Linked DNA regions of Homo sapiens: region 2 is linked to region 1. Evidence: promoter capture Hi-C in human tissues and cell types (Jung and others, 2019). All regions are on one chromosome and are shown on one strand. The core of a region is centred on a gene start or on the middle of the fragment in contact, and the rest is flanking DNA. Distances in the headings are between cores, read along the strand shown. Region 1 holds the start of POFUT2 (protein O-fucosyltransferase 2). Region 2 overlaps LOC124905046 (a long non-coding RNA gene).

What was found. The method cuts DNA at HindIII sites, captures the fragments that hold promoters and counts their contacts. A contact is called where the count stands out against the background at its distance.
Region 2: a fragment that was not itself captured here is called in contact with the fragment with the promoter of POFUT2 in region 1 in 1 of the 25 tissues and cell types used here (dorsolateral prefrontal cortex).

Annotation. Positions count from the first base shown.
Region 1 is chr21:45,286,587-45,289,595 of GRCh38, forward strand. It overlaps POFUT2 (protein O-fucosyltransferase 2), which reads right to left and starts at 1,309. Exons shown (of 9, transcript NM_133635.6): 1 at 1,155-1,309. The coding sequence starts at 1,285. LINC00205 (long intergenic non-protein coding RNA 205) reads left to right here and starts at 1,466. Exons shown (of 3, transcript NR_026943.1): 1 at 1,466-1,658; 2 at 2,765-2,852. RefSeq lists a silencer at 1,236-1,765 and an enhancer at 1,920-2,650. The HindIII fragment of the contact is 23,447 bases long and covers 1-3,009 here.
Region 2 is chr21:46,449,069-46,452,323 of GRCh38, forward strand. It overlaps LOC124905046 (a long non-coding RNA gene), which reads right to left. Exons shown (of 2, transcript XR_007067915.1): 2 at 1-3,255. Among named protein-coding and RNA genes, the nearest start is that of DIP2A, 8.2 kb to the right of the region's middle. RefSeq lists a silencer at 1-95. The HindIII fragment of the contact is 6,584 bases long and covers 1-3,255 here.

The DNA of each region.
Region 1 (3,009 bases), core at 59-2,558:
TACTATTAAAACGGCTACAAAAGCTCAGAGATCCAGGACACACTTTAAGATCACTGCCCTAGAGGAAGGACACAAAGCGCCCCAAGGCACAGACAAGTCCCCAAGGCACAGACAAGTCCCCAAGGGCTACAGAAACCCTGTCCCTGGCGCTCTCCTTTCCCTGCTCTGCGCTGGTTTTCCATACTCCCATCGTCGCGAGTGAAGCTGCGTGCAGCGCCCAGGCCTGCGAACGCCACGAGGGGCCGTGCACACCTCTGCGTCCAGGCCCCTCCCGGGGTCCGCTTGGAGATCCCACAGCCACAGGGCGGCCGCGAAGCTCGTCTTGGCCCTGAGAATTCACTGCGGAGCGCCCGCCCGGCACTGACTCCCGGCTCCGCACACCCAGGCCTGGACCCGTGTCACTTGCAGGGGCCTCCGGAGCCAGCCCACGCTCAGCCTGAGCAACCCGGCCCCCTTCCTGGGCTCCCGAGGCTGCGCCCCGGGCCTCGCAGACGACCCCGCCTGCAGACCCGGGCCGCAGTGACGCAGCCTCGACTACAGCCAACCCGCTGGCCCGACCCTGCCCCCAGCCCCCGCCCCATCCCATCCCCCAGACTCCAGCCCGGCCCCGGCCCCTGCCCCTGCCCCTGCCCCTGTCCCGTCCCCGTCCCATCCTTCTTGGCCCCGGCTCCCGCCCCGCCCCCATCCCATCCCTCGGGCCCCCGTTCCTGCCCCCATCCCATCCCACCCCTCCTGGCCCTAGCCCCTGCCCCGCCCCCATCCCATCCCATCACCCTGGCCCCTGCCCCGCCCCCATCCCATCCCATCGCCCTGATCCCTGCCCCGCCCCCATCCCATCCCTCCTGGCCCCTGCCCCCTGCCCCTATACCATCACCCTGGCCCCTTACTCCGCCACATTCCTTGCCCCAGAACCCTGACCCCATCCCATTCCCCTGACCCCTGCCCCCTGACCCCGCTCCATCCCATCCCCCTGGCCCCTGCCCCATAACTCCGCTCCATTCCATCTCCCTGGCCCCGGACCACCCTCCATCCCGTGGGCCTGCCCCTGACCCCATCCCATCTCCCTGGCCCCTGACCCCGCCCCGCCCCCATCCCATCCTCTGACCCTGCCCGGTCCTGGAACCCCAGCGTTGGCACCGTGGACGCGCGTTTACCGTCTGCGGGAAGCCGCCCCCGACAGAATATCGGCCGCCGATTGTCCGGGCCAGAACTCCTGGCCGGAGGCAGAAGCCGGAGGCCAGGACACTGCCCCCAGCAGCAGGAAGACGAAGCTGAGTGTCGCCATGGCCCCGGGCGGCCACGCACTTCCGGCGGCCGCGCCCCGCCCCGGAACCACGCCCCGCCCCCGTGAAATGCGTTCCCAGTAGCCACGGCAACGCCCAGCTCCGCCCTCCCCGCGCATGCGTTATGCGCCATCACCGGCAAGCAGGGGCGGGAGGGGGAACTGCGCGTGCGCAGAGTCTCCGCCCTCCTGACCGCAGCGGCTAGAGGTTCCATTGCAGACCCGGAGGCCGTGGCTGTGGTTCGCGGCGGTGCTGTCGCGGGCGCCCTGGCGCAGCCCACGCAGGGGCTCCTGAGGGTCCGCGAGGCCGGGAGGTCCGGGGGTCGGGAGGTCCCGGGGTCGGGAAGTCGGTGGACCCTGCAGGCCAGTGGGGAGGGTACGCGAGACTGGGGGCCGGGAGGGCTGACGGCTGGTGGCGCGGGGCGGGTCCGTGGGGAGGAGGCCCGGGGCTGGTAGGGGCGGGAGGGCTGGACGGCGGGGGCGGGGCGGAGGAGGGGGTCCGTAGACGGGGTCGGCGCCGGGTGCTCTCGCCCCTCTGGAGCTGGGGTCGGGGCGGGAGCCGCGCATGAGAGCCTGGGTTTCTAGTCGGGGGGCGCCGTCGAGCTCCACACCTGCGGCCTCCTGGGTGCCCCCAACCCTGGAGCCCCGGCGAGGGGGCACCCGGGCTGAGGCCTGGCCCTCCAAGGAGCCCTGGAGGGACTGTGCTGCTAGGGCGCGGGGCTCGATGGGGTGATCTGGAGACCTGGGGGGATCCGGGGCTGCCGCCCCTGCGCTGCCAACCTCCCACCCCGCCCCTTCTGCGAGGCGTTATTAAAGGTCTGGTTTCGGGAGCCAGGTGCGTGCCCGCCGCCGCCGCTCCCCGCAGCCTCCAGGCAGCTCCCGCTGTTCCCCGAGGGCACCAGCACTGGCCGACCGACCTGGCTTGGGGCGCGGCGCTGGCAAACCCGGCCTTCTGAGGGGACGCCACGCTGACTCTAGTGCAGGCAGCCCCCAAAACGGTATAATTGGACGAATTTCTTGAAGGATGCCAGTTACCAAAAAAGAAAATACTAATGCTTATTATCTGTTAAATTTGAGATCAATTTGTTATCAAATTTTCTCACACAGAAAATTCCAGGCCCAGAGGGCCAAGCTGGTGAATCCTACTTAGAGAAGAAATAATAGGAATCCAGCCACTCAGACGATGGACGAGGAGGGGCACTTCCCTGCTCGATGTATGGGCCAGCATTGCCTTGATAGCAAAGTCAGACATCACCAGACAGTAGAACCACAGACCAATGTCTTTCATGAACCAAGACACAGCATTTAAAAAAATTAGCAAATGGAATTTATATCTGCCTATTGTTTACAAAAAAAGCCAAACTTTGTAAAATACTTGAAGAGATTTATTCTGAGCCAAATATGACCCATGACACAGCCTCAGGACGTCCTGAGAACTTGGCCCAAGGCGGTTGTTTTACTGCTTGGTTTTATTCATTTCAGGGAGACATAAGACATCAGTCAGTACATGTGAGGTGTGCATTGGATTGATCCAGAAAGTCAGGACGACTCCAAGTGGAAAGGCCTCCAGGTAATAGGTGGATTCAAAGATGTTTCTGATTGGCAGTTGGTTGAAAGAAGTTACTATCTGAAGGCTTGGAATCAATAGAAAGGAGTGTCTGGGTTAAGAGAAGGGGCTGTGGAGACCGAGGTCCTTATTATGTGGATGAAATCTCATAGGTGTCCGC
Region 2 (3,255 bases), core at 395-2,894, 1.2 Mb after region 1:
TTTATAGACCTCCCCCAAGGAATGCAATTATTTTCCTAGGGTCTTAATATTCCTTGTTAGGAAAAGAATTTAGCGATATCTCTCCTACTTGCACGTCCGTTTATAGGCTCTCTGCAAGAAGAAAAATATGGCTCTTTTTGCCCGAACCCACAGGCAGTCAGACCTTATGGTTGTCTTCCCTTGTTCCCTAAAATCGCTGTTCTGTTCATTTTCAAGGTGCACTGATTTCATTATTGTTCAAACACACGTTTTTTTTTTTTTTTGGTTTGTTTGTTTTTTGAGATGGAGTCTCACTCTGTCGCCCAGGCTGGAGTGCAGTGGCGCCATCTCAGCTCACTGCAAGCTCCATCTCCCAGGTTCATGCCATTCTCCTTCCTCAGCCTCCCGAGTAGCTGGGACTACAGGTGCCTGCCACCACACCCGGCTGATTTTTTGTATTTTTAGTAGAGACGGGTTTTCACTGTGTTAGCCAGGATGGTCTTGATCTCCTGGCCTCGTCAAATGCACGTTTTACAATCGATTTGTACAGTTAATGCAATCATCACAGTGGACCTGAGGTGACATACATCCTCAGCTTACGAAGATAACAGGATTGAGATTAGACAGGCATAAGAAATTATAAGAGTATTACTAGGAAGTGATAAACGTCCATGAAATCTTCACAATTTATGTCCCTCTGCCGCGGCTCCAGCCGGTCCCTCGGTTTGGGGTCCCTGACTTCCCGCAACACAGCACAACCCAGAACCTCTGTAAGCCTCATTGGCTAAGAGTTTTTATCAAGGCCTCATTACATAGTCATGATGGATTGGATTATTGATCACATGATTGAACTTAAACTCCAACCCCCTCCCCTCTCCAGAGGTTTGAGGGTGGGGCTGAAAATCCTAATCCTCCAATCATGTGGTTGGGTCCTCTGGTGTCCAGCCCCCACCTTGAAGGGGCCCCACCACAATCACCTCAAAAGCCTGAATAGAAAACTTTTAATGACTGCACCTGGGATGGATGCCTGATATGGTTTGGATCTGTGTGTCTGCCCAATCTCATGCTGAATTCTAATCCCTAATGTTGGAGGTGGGACCTGGTGGGAGGTTACTGGATCATGGGGACAGTTCCTCGTGAATGGTTTAACACCTGGGTGCTGTCCTCAGACAGTGAATGAGTTCTCACGAGATCTGGTTGTTCAAGTGTGTGGCACCTCCATCCTCTCTCTGCCTCCTAATACAGCCATGTGAAGTGCCTTGCTCCCCCTTTGTCTTCTGCCATGATTGGAAGCTTCCTGAGGCCTCCCCAAAGGAAAAGCCACTATGCTTACTGTACAGCCTGCAGAACCGTGAGCCAAATATACCTCTTTTCTTTATAAATTATCCAGTCTCAGGCATTTTTTTTTTTTAGATGGAGACTTGCTCTGTCACCCAGGCTTAAATGGCACAATCTTGGCTCACTGCAACCTCCGCCTCCCGGGTTCAAGCAATTATCCTGTCTCAGCCTCCTGAGTAGCTGAGACTACAGGTGCACGCCACCAGGCCCGACTAATTTTTGTACTTTTAGTAGAGACAGAGTTTCACCATATTGGTCAGGCTGGTCTCGAACTCCTGACCTCAGGTGATCCACCGGCTTTGGCCTCCCAAAGTGCTGGGATTACAGGCCTCAGCCACCACACCTGGCCTCAGGCATTTCTTTATAGCAGTGTGAGAACAAATACAGTGCCTCACAGAGAGATGCTGATTCTCAAAACCCAACAATACCACCTTGCTTGCAGACCCCCAAGACTCTGATCCCAATACAGCCCACAGAAGCATGAGGCATACCATAGGAGGACAGCCTATACACAAATCATTAAACTGGACATAAACAGCATTCCACTGAAACTGGAAATAATATACACAAAACTATGCCTGAACAGATTCAGAAGGCATAAGTATGTGACCCAAGTGAGTGACCAAACACATGCTGCCGCCTCTTCTACTTCACACCCCTCAGTCTACATCTGTGGTTTCACGGGACGCTCCCTAGGACCAGTTGACAGAAGACGAAAAAATACAGGTTTGTTCTACCAACGGATCCATACGGTATGGTGGCATGAACCATAAATAGTTGCTACACTAGTGACTCACACCTGAAATCCCAGCACTTTGGGAGGCTAAGGCAGGCGGATCATGAGGTCAGGAGATTGAGACTATCCTGACCACCGTGGTGAAATCCCATCTCTACTAAAAGACACAAAATTAGCCGGGCATGGTGGCGTGTGCCTGTAGTCCCAGCTACTCGGGAGGCGGAGGCAGGGGAATCGCTTGAACCCGGGAGGCAGAGGTTGCAGTGAGCTGAGATCGCGCCACTGCACTCCAGCCTGGAAGACCGAGTGAGACTCCGTCTCAAAAAACAAACAAAAAGATGGTTGCTACACTACAACCTAGTTTAGGGTTGGATTTTTGAAGATTTCCAGCTGGCAAAACTTGGGAGGGTACAGCTGGTGGTCCATCTTATGTGGAAAGGAAGGTGTCTGAATTTACTGATCTGCAAGCATTCCCATGCAGTTACGCACTGTCCAGCTGGTCAATAACAGAAAGATTGCAAAGAACGGTTTCAAGGAAGTCTTCAGTGCCGGGCTCAGTGGCTCATGCCTTTGGGAGGCTGTGCCTTTAGCATGCTGTCTCAGCGCTCTGCCAGGCAGGAGGGCCCATGGACACTACACTTCCTTGGCTATAAAGTGAATCTCGTTTGAAATGTTGTGTGCTTATGTCAGTGAAACAAACACTCCTTAAGCCTTTCTGGCTGACACTTGTGAGTAGGAAAAGACAAGCCTCGTATCTGGAATATGAGACTATTCTTGTGAAAAGTGAACCACCAGCCCTTCCAGGATGGGAGAGTTCCAATACAGTAAACTCTCCTTATAAAATGGGGACTATGTCTAAAGACCTCTGTAAACCTGGATGTTTGTGCTCCTTGATGAAGTGACCCACAATGGGAGTATAGCACTGGTCTCTTTTGCTGGCAGGTTAGATATTTAGGGGCAGCTAGATATTAACCAAAGCCGGGTAGATCTCTTTTGCTGGCAGGTTAGATATTCAGGGGCAGCTAGATATTAACCAAAGCTGGGTAGAGAGCATGGGTTGCTGTCAGGCCCATGAACAGCGTCCATCACCTTGGCTACCTTGTCCATGTGCCCATCATGCCAGTAGTACAGTAGCCAATAAAAGATGCTGTCCAATATCAACTGGCTGAGTCAACTGTCTACTTGGTTGTATAATGCTTCTT